3 separate regions of the Homo sapiens genome follow, and all the other regions are linked to region 1. The links are contacts of gene promoters, found by promoter capture Hi-C in human tissues and cell types (Jung and others, 2019). All regions are on one chromosome and are shown on one strand. The core of a region is centred on a gene start or on the middle of the fragment in contact, and the rest is flanking DNA. Distances in the headings are between cores, read along the strand shown.

Evidence for each region. The method cuts DNA at HindIII sites, captures the fragments that hold promoters and counts their contacts. A contact is called where the count stands out against the background at its distance.
Region 2: a contact is called between a fragment that was not itself captured here and the fragment with the promoter of MAPT in region 1, in 1 of the 25 tissues and cell types used here (mesendoderm cells).
Region 3: a contact is called between a fragment that was not itself captured here and the fragment with the promoter of MAPT in region 1, in 4 of the 25 tissues and cell types used here (dorsolateral prefrontal cortex, heart left ventricle, mesendoderm cells and 1 more).

What each region holds. Positions count from the first base shown.
Region 1 is chr17:45,893,051-45,896,110 of GRCh38, reverse strand. MAPT (microtubule associated protein tau) reads right to left here and starts at 1,557. Exons shown (of 13, transcript NM_001377265.1): 1 at 1,425-1,557. It overlaps MAPT-AS1 (MAPT antisense RNA 1), which reads left to right and starts at 598. Exons shown (of 2, transcript NR_024559.1): 1 at 598-631. It overlaps MAPT-IT1 (MAPT intronic transcript 1), which reads right to left and starts at 328. Exons shown (of 1, transcript NR_024560.1): 1 at 1-328. RefSeq lists enhancers at 1-728, 729-1,614. The HindIII fragment of the contact is 9,010 bases long and covers 1-3,060 here.
Region 2 is chr17:46,044,399-46,047,590 of GRCh38, reverse strand. All of the region lies in intron 7 of KANSL1 (KAT8 regulatory NSL complex subunit 1), which reads left to right. Among named protein-coding and RNA genes, the nearest start is that of STH, 47 kb to the right of the region's middle. The HindIII fragment of the contact is 4,503 bases long and covers 1-3,192 here.
Region 3 is chr17:45,706,908-45,710,084 of GRCh38, reverse strand. All of the region lies in intron 3 of LINC02210-CRHR1 (LINC02210-CRHR1 readthrough), which reads right to left. Among named protein-coding and RNA genes, the nearest start is that of CRHR1, 76 kb to the left of the region's middle. The HindIII fragment of the contact is 5,336 bases long and covers 1-3,177 here.

The sequences.
Region 1 (3,060 bases), core at 308-2,807:
ACAATGGGCTCGGAAATGAGGAGCGAAAAAGGAAAGAGAGGCGCATGGGCGTAGGGGGGAGGTTGACTGAACACCCTCAGAATAAAAGCCAGAAACCAGGGCTGGGAGCGCAGATCACGTAACCTCTACAGACAAAGCAAAGAGCCCCCGAAGAAGGTGCTGGGCGAACGCCCCCAGTGCTCACGCCCGCAGCAGCAAAACGCCAAGATTTCAGCGCTGATTGTCCCCCTCCCTTTAATGCCAGGCCCCGCCCTGTCCTATGAAGCCCGGCCACCCGGTTTGGCATGGCACCGTAAAGACGTGACACGCCGAAAAAAGATGGCACCTCGCGTTCCGAGGGGGAAAAAAAGGGGGGCTGGGGGCGGGAGTGGGAGGAGGCACAGCCTATCCTCCCCCTTCCTCGCCCACCAGGGTCCACACCCACTGCCGCAGTGAGGGGCGAGCCCTGCGCGCCAGCCCCGCGCCTCCGGCAGGGAGCGCACACGCCGGGCGCCCTGCGCTCCGAGCGCTGAGAAAGAAATCCGCCCCGAGATGCACCTGCAGCCCCGCGCCCATCCGTGCGTGGCTGCGGCTGTGCGTGCCCGCGAACGGGGACCAGCGGCCGCCGAGTCCGTCCACATCGCCAGGCCAGGTGAACCCTGCCTTTGCGAGCGTGCACAGTGGGATCCGCGCACTGTTCTCAGGCACGGCGCTGCTCGCGTCTCTGTGCCAGGCGTGCGCAGGGGGAAGGGCAACTAAAGTGACAGCGCGTGGACCCCTCCCCATCTCCTCGATTTCTCCCAGCCCCCAAATGTCCCCTACGGGTTTCTGAAGGAGGAAAAGGGGAGGGGGCCGGCCCCCGCCTAAAATCAGGGGCAGTGAAGGCCCTGTCGGAATCACTGCTCGGGAGGTGCAGGGAGGGGCGTGCAGGGAGTCATCTTTTCTAGAACCCGATCCACGTCTTTCTTAGAGCTGATGGCGAACAGCGGCAGGGACAGCGGATTTCAGATTCGGTTTCGGGGGTCGTTATCGGACCCCTCCACACACACACACACACACACACACACACACACACACACACACGCCCATTGCGGCAAAAGGCTGCAGTCGAGAGTGAAGGGCAGCCCCCTCCCCCAAGTCACCGCCGCCGCGCCCCACCCTGCCGGCACAGCCTCCACCTGGGGTCTGCGCGAATCTGGTGGTGAAGACCCTCCAGCACACACACACGCGCGCACTCACGCGTGCGTGCATCCCTTGCTCAGGTCCCTTTCCAGGCCGCCCTGGCCCCAGCCCCCGAGCAGGGGAGGCAGGGAGGGGCCCTGCGGTGGCCCCGACCGATGCCCGGCGCACGAAGCCCCAGTCTGCGGAGAGGGAGGGCGAGGGGCGGCGGCGCAGGGGTGCACAGAGGCGGACGGCGAGGCAGATTTCGGAGCCGCGGCGCTTACCTGATAGTCGACAGAGGCGAGGACGGGAGAGGACAGCGGAGGAGGAGAAGGTGGCTGTGGTGGCGGCGGCAGAAGGTGGGCGGTGGCAGCGGCGCTGCTGTTGGTGCCGGAGCTGGTGGGTGGCGGTGACTGCGAGGGCGCGCGCCGGCGAAGAGGGCGCGTTCCTGAGGCCGGCGGGCGGCGCAGGCGCGAGCAGCGGGAACGCGAGCCTCCCCAGGGGAGGGGGCGGGCAGCGCGGCCTCCGCGGGAGCCTTCTCCTCCGGCCACTAGTGGGCGCGCGCGAGCGCCCTGCCGCTCGGCCGTCCGGCGTCTCCCGGCTCGTTCCTCTCGGCGCTGCCCTTTCGCGGTCCCCCTCCCGCTACGCCTCAGGCCGCGGCGCTGACCGCAGCGCGCACGCGCGTTCCGTGGCGCACGCGCTTTCTCCACCTCCTGTAGTTGGAGTCTTTGTGTCGTTGCGGGGGTGGGTGTCCTCCTTCGGGCCATGCGGGGTCGGGGCAAGGCCAGTGGCTCCGCCGCTGGGTCCGCTGCCCTTTACTTTCAGTCAGCCTGGGGCGGTGTCCTCTCCTACAGAAGTCCTGAGCGGCCTTCCACGTGGCCGGCCCTCGAGTCCGTCCGCCCCGACCCTTCGTAGTCCCGAAACCGCCCCCCTGGCTAAGGTCTCTTTCCCCCAGGCTGCTTCCTTTCTCCTTGCTTTTTTCCCACCTTTTTTGTTACTGACCAAGGTGAATCCTTTCCTTAACAAATCGGCTTAAAGCAAGCTAACTCAGTTACAATACAGTAGAACTGTACTTAAAAAAAAAGAAACGTGAATCTAACCGTTACGTCAGAAAAAAAAATCTTAAATTAGACGAATTTCAAACAGTGCTTAACACATCGCAGAGCATTTGCAGTTATTTGTATCACGTCTTTTGAAACACCTTTATGCTGTAAATAGAGCTTGAAGTCTGAATGTTTAAGGGCCAGCTAGAGATTGTCCCCTGGAAGACGCACCTCAGCCTGAAACTGACCAGTGGTCCTCATTCTGCTGGTCGCCCAGGCCCCAGGCTTCGGCCTTAGCTTGGATTTTTCATTTCCCCAACATCAAGTTTAAGCCCAAGCAGTGGGATGATTTCTATGTAGGGGGGTTTAGGGCAGCCATCTCCTCCTAGGGAGATGGGAAGTTGTCTTGAAGCTCCAATTTGCATAGCTCTTATATTCTTTTTAAAAAATCAACATATGTTATAGATTAATAGAAAAAGCAAGTAAAATGCTTTATTCACACAGTTTCTGGAACTGACCTTTTTCTCCTTTTTTTTTTTAAATGCATATTAACTTTATTTTTAAACAGAGGGGCATATACCCAAAGAAGTAGGAGTGAGAACCACCATGGGGGCTTGCTCAAAGCAATCTGCCCTAGCCTTCTGACTACAGAATGTCTCATGAGCCAATGGCCTGGAGATGGAGCTGCCCCTTGATGGTGTACACCTTAGAAAAGTCAGTGGAATTGACCTTTTTTTGGAGACAAGGTCTTGCTCAGGCTGGAGTGCAGTGGCACAATCGTAGCTCACGGCAAGCTTGAACTCCTGGGGCTCAAGCAATCTTCCCACCTCAGCCTTCTGAGTTGCTGGGACTACAGGTGGGCACCACCACACCTGGC
Region 2 (3,192 bases), core at 693-3,192, 150 kb before region 1:
GCTGGTTTTGAACTGAGCTCAAGTGATCCACCCATCTTGGCCTCTCAAAGTGCTGGGATTACAGGTGTAAACCACCACGCCCGGCCTGAACTTTTTCTTCAAGGGCCATATGGTAAATATCTTAGGCTTTGCAGGCCATATAATTGATGTCAGTTCATGTCACAACTGCTCAACCCTGTCATTGTAGCACAAAAGCAGCCATAGACAATATGTGAACAAATGAACCTGATTGTGTTGCAACAAAAGTTTATTTATAAAAACAATCATTGCTAACCCTTGTCCTAGAGAGAATCCTTCTAATTGACAGTTGATCAAACATTAGATAACTATAATCCCCTGTTCTGCATCTGTTCTTCAAATGATTGCATTTCTGGCCACCTAAATCCAGTAGATACCGGGATTTTTGGCTTTTGTTACCAAAACCCCCTAGCTGTGATAAGGATGTGGTGTAATATTCCTGTGGCCATGTGATTTCTTGTAAGAGAAAGGAAACAGAAAACCTGGAACACATGGATAGTCAGGAGCTGGTGGAGCAATAAATAAACTTGAACACAATGAGTGGAAAACACTAAAACATTTTCCTCTGTGCTTCAGATTCCAGAGTCACTGACTTTTACCTTCCCTTGCCATTGGATTTATGTAGCCCATGTAACTGCAGTTACTATTTGTATAGCATTTTAAAGTTTGTAGTACTCTTCTCATATTTGTCTCATATGCTGCTTTCAAAATTCTTTTTTTTTTTTTTTTTTTACTTTTGAGACAGTTTTGCTCTGTCACCCAGGCTGGAGTGCAGTCGTGCAATCTCGGGTCACTGCAACCTCCGCCTCCCAAGTTCAAGCAATTCTCCTGCCTCAGCCTCCTGAGTAGCTGGGACTACAGGCACGCGCCACCACGCCCGGCTAATTTTTGTACTTTTAGTAGAGATGGGGGTTTCACCATATTGGCCAGGAGGGTCTTGAACTCCTGACCTCGTGATCCACCCGTCTTGGCCTCCCAAAGTGCTGGGATTACAAGCATGAGCCACCGCACCTGGCTTTTTTTTTTTTTTTTTTTTTTTTTTTTGACAGAGTCTCACTCTGTCACTCAGGCTAGAATGCAGTGGTGTGGTTTTTGGCTCATTGCAGCATCGGCCTCCCAGGATCAGGTGATTCTCCCACTTCAGTGGGTAGCTGGGACTACAGGTGCACACCACCATGCCTGGCTAATTTTTTGCATTTTTAGTAGAGAAGAGGTTTCCCCGTGTTGCCCATGCTGGTCTCAAACTCTTGGGCCCAAGCGATCTACCCATCTTGGCTTCCTAAAGTGCTGGGATTATAGGCATGAGCCACCATGCCCGGCCCAGAAATTTTGTAAGGTGTTACTTCAGTGTTAGTGCTCAAGGAACAGGCTTGGTAAGGTTGTGGCTTATCTAAAACTAAATGGCTAATGGGTTTGAATGCCTTCACAGTTCAGACCCAGATTATCTGATGCCTGTCCTTCCTTTTACTATATTTCAAGTTCCTTTCCAGACAGATTATTAAGAGGAGTCAGATTTTTACCCTTTTTGGGATTCTGGCTACAGACAGCGCCACTAGGAAGACTTAGGAATGTTTGTTGGGTTACTCTCTGAATTACTGTGTTGAATTGTATAGTCTCATACTTGAAGAAGGACAGGAAGCCCGGACACTTAAGCACACTCATTGGATATCACCTGCTAAACAGAACAGTCATTTCTTTGTCAACAGCATTACCACATACAGTTGCAAATAACCTCCCCCACCCTCAGATATACCCAGACTGTGTGTCTCTCAGCTCCTGTTCCATCATTCAGCATCTCTACTAAGAGGTTCCATTTCCCTTGAACATTTTCTGTCCTGCTGACTGCAGGACACTATAGATCTGACATGAATGCTGCCCTGCCGCATACCTTACACCTCCCACACCATCATTCAGAGCAACTACAGGCAGCAATGAGGGGGAATGGAAAGAAAGATAGGGAACACTCCCCCTTTTCTGGTCTTTATGGTTTTTATTTTCCTGCATCTAATCCTATTTGTTTTTCTGTCTATGTCTCACACACACACGAAGAGCTTCTAGCTATGGCCCTGGGGTTTGGACGAAAAAGTTGGTCATTAAATTCTCCTTATGAGACTGTGGAGATATATATATATTTTTACATGTAGGCTCTATTAACTACTGTATTTGCCTGTAGATTAATTACACCTCAGTTGGTTGACCTGAAGACCTGATTACCATGTCTAATATTATTCCTGTTGGAATAATTTTGCTTTGACCCAAACAACTGCCACATTCAGAATGCAGTCCATTTGGAAATCAGAAGATTCCCATGGGTGCAGAGATAGCCAACTCCAAAGGGCACCATTCACATAATATCCCGTGTAAATAACACACCCCCTGAAGTCTTGGGATTCCCTGTACATCATTGTATAGCAGTAAATAACAGTGAAGGCTAGCAGCTTGGCATACGACTGTGTAGGTCAAACATTTGTGTGGTAGATTTTACTACTGGGCCACCCTTACAACCTCTTCTCTAGAAGATGTTTTAAAGTGGCAGGATTTCCAACTTTTTTTTTTTTCATAACAAGGTTAAAAATGATTTTGATTCATTGATTCCATATAGTTACATTTATACCAGACATAAAGGCAGAAAATTGTTTGAATGTGATACTTAGCTGTTTTCTGGCCCCATAGGACAGATATTTTTTTAAGTAGTTTTAGTGCTGTTTCCTAACCAGTTTGTGTAGTTTGTTAGAATAACAACCAACTGCTGCTTTTCATCCTGGAGTTGTGCCTCGCACCTTGACTGTACCTCAGCCCCTCTCATTAAGTGTGTGTGGGTGATAGAAATTGAGGGACTGTGTTATAGCCAACTCTACGCCTGGCTGTGGAAGGTGGAGAGACTAGGGTATAATAACCTGTTAGTATTCCAGCAGGAAGGGGGCTTTGTTTTATCACCTCAAGTAATCAAATCCAGTTAATCCTTAGTTGGAAATGTAGAGGATATATAACCTTGGAGAAAAGCTTGTTAACTTTATAAAAGGGGCTTAATAAGAGCACCACCTGCTGGCCATGAAGATCTGTGGTATTTTGAGAGAGCTTGCCAAACCCTGCACATGAGGCTACAGCAACTTCCCAGCAGGAGGAAGAAGTGAGCATTACAAAACACCCGGAAAAAGTGCGCCTGAGAAAATG
Region 3 (3,177 bases), core at 86-2,585, 190 kb after region 1:
GAGGCCCCCACAGGGCAATCCAGCAGTGCCCCTGAGCCTGGCTTGTCCACCTAGAGGTAGAAATGGCCTTGATCAGGGGTCTCAGTGGTGCCAGAGCTGCAGTGCTCCGTGCTCTGGTGGGAGCTGGCGCAGTCTGTCTTCCCCATGCCAGGTTCCACTCCAGCCTGCCATTCCCAGGGGATCTATTAGCATCTCAAGACTCAAGTAAGGCTTGGTAAAGCAGGCTCCCTGTGTGGCAGTATTCACCGGAGACGCAGAGAAAGGGAGGTGGAGATTTGGAGAAAGCCAGCTCAGAGATCCAGGGAAAAGGGCTGGGGAGCACTCAGAGCATGATCTGCCCAAGTCCACCGGAGGAAACAGGCATTTGACTTGCTTTCCCAGCTACCATCTGCTGGGAAAGGTGCGGCAGGTAGAGTGAGGGGCCACAGTGACCCCTGATCAGTGAGGGGCATGGAGGCTGGACACCCAGGCTTGCCCAGCTCTGCCTCCTGCCTCAGTGGATGAGACCAGACCTCAGGGTACACTCAGATGCCCAGGATCCTGGCATCTTAGCACCTCAGTGAGGAACCCAGGAAAGCTAAAGATTCTCAAGACAGTGACCCAGGTGCCCTGTAGGTCATTCATTCCCAAACACTGAGTGCAAAGGCTTTGGAATTTGTTATATAAATTAGAACAGAGGCAAGGGTATCCCTGCAATGCAATTCTCAGGGTTCTCTGTTCTGATGATCTTTCTGGAAAAGGAATAAGGGTTTGCATTACAGCCCCTATAGGGGTACTGGAAGTGGCCCGGGCCCATGGAAAGGGCTAACATGTGCCCATTGTGGTTAGGAAAAGTGATCTGGAAGTCACTGATCTGGTCCAAAGTTCACACTCGAGTGAAGAAACCCAGAAAAGATAAAAGGTTTGGACAAAATCACACAGCAGGTTAGGGTGGAGCCTGGACCAGAAGCCCAGACCCCAATCCAATTCCTTTTCTGCTTCCTCATTCTCTCTGTACTCACTTAGTCACTGTGGGTCTCACTCTTCCCTTCTGTACAATGGGGATGATCACACATTCCTTCCCACTCTCAAGGCGGGAGCTCTCCACAGGAAGCAGACAAAGCAGGGTGAGATCAAGCAGGATCGCAGCTGTGCCCTTGCCTTGAGGCTGGGATGATCACCAGGCCCTGCAGCTCAATCCTGAGTCCTCCCTGGAGACTGGGAAAAGCCCAGCCGCACTCAGCCTGCTATTTGTCCAGCTTAACCTGCACATCTTCCTTGTAGAGCAGCAGAACCCTGATAAAAAACATTTCATTGAGATTTATTCTCCCCAGATCCCTGGGCTGGCTTTTATTTGGTCCACCTGCCAATCAGGAAATGCGCACTTTGGCAGTGGACACGGTGAAGTTGTAAGGCTCCTCTGCCACCACTCCCCCTCTCCTTCCAAGGGGGACCCAGCCAGAGTTCCCTGCCAGCCTGTGCCCTTGAGCCCATCTCTTAGGAGTTTGCATTTTAAAAGAGGAAACTGAGTGGGGGAAATGGCAGTTTCCAAAGGAACAGATGGCTCCTGGCAGAATATGAGGCTCTGGGACCCTGCAAGGAGGCAGGGGATGCATCCACCCAGGTGGGCAGCCACTCACTCTCTGATGCATGAGACCTCCCCAACTGCCACTGGCCACCTTGGCTCTGGTGTACTTTGCAACACTATGGTACCAACTTCACAGCCAAAGCTGCTTCTCATAGTTCTTGCCTGGGTAAAGAGCCAAGAGACCTGAATTCCACGCTGACCTTGACTATGTGATTTGGGGCAAAATACTCCTCTTCTCTAGACTTCTGTTTCCTCATCTCTCAGATTTGACCTGATGGTGGTTAAAGCCTTCTTGCCCCAAAGGCAAATGGCTGTGCATGTCTACAAGGATCTTTATGTGCCCAGGAAAGACCTGAGGGGGTGTGTGATGTTTGTCCTGTTGACCAATTGGAAAGCAAGGCATGAAAAATTACCAGAAATAAGTGGCAATACAAGACGACCCTACAAAGGCCATCTATCACCAGACAGTTTACATGAAGGGTCAGGGAAGCTGAAAATAACCAGGAAGAGACATAAGAATGAGAGGAAGAGAGGAGGGGAGATGGAAGGGCTGGAGTGATCAAGGCAGTACCCCGGCAGGAGATGGGGCAGAGCTGAGCTTGGAAGGATGGATAGGATTTGAATCAATGGAAATGAGTTGGCCAGGGAGAGGACATGAGCAGAAGTAGGCACTGGTGAGTGGGTGAGTCGGGCTGGAGTGAAGAGACCACAAAGATAAAGCTTATAAGATGACAGCAAGAATGAGGGGGGAAAAGAGAAAAAGAAATTTAAAAAAATAAGATACAGCCTAAAGTTCAGGCAGGGTCACTGTGGAAACAGCCCTTTTATTTTTCTCCCTGAATCCACACTGGGAGCCCTGGTCTGCAGGATGGTCTTAGGACTTGTGCCTGAGTCCTAGCCATTTGGCCTTCCCTGCCCAACTGCCTTCCTAGATCCATACTCCTTTCTGCTGGCACTGAAGAGGGAAGCCCTCCCGTCATGTACCATGCGACTTTGTCCCCTCTAGGCTACAGGAGATGGATGAGAGGTGAGCAAGTGACTCTCCCATCCATAGGCTGATTCAAGGGCATTAGAAATGCTTTCTCTTTTGAGAACATTGAGACACACAGAAATCCATAGTCAGGAATGGAGACTGAAACCAAACAGGGGGAAAAGACAGTGGCCGCTAAGTTGGACCTTATGAAAAGTGAGTAGGCTGACGGGGCCCAGGAGAAGGGCTCCCTGCTCATCCAGCTCCAGCCTCCAAAAGCCCATTCCACAGCCTTGAGGCTGCCTGTTTGTCATCTTTGACAATCAGCAACACCCCTTCACTCAAGGCAGCGCAGTGGGTCGCAGTTCCCTGTAACAAGCACGGCTTGAGCAGACTATAGCTCACACCCGGGCAACTAGCCTGAGAATTGTGGCCACGAAAGGCAGAAGCTTCCCTAGTCCCTGGTGCCTCTGAATTAGCATCAGAACAATCTCCACAGAGGCCCTGCCTGTCTCCCACCCCAAACTCCTTGTTCCTCTGGGCCTTTGCCAGTGCGGTTCCCTGCATATCTAGAGCCCATCCCAAGACGCACTTCCTCCACAAAACCTTCTCTACTAACCCCAACCCCATCTGATCACAC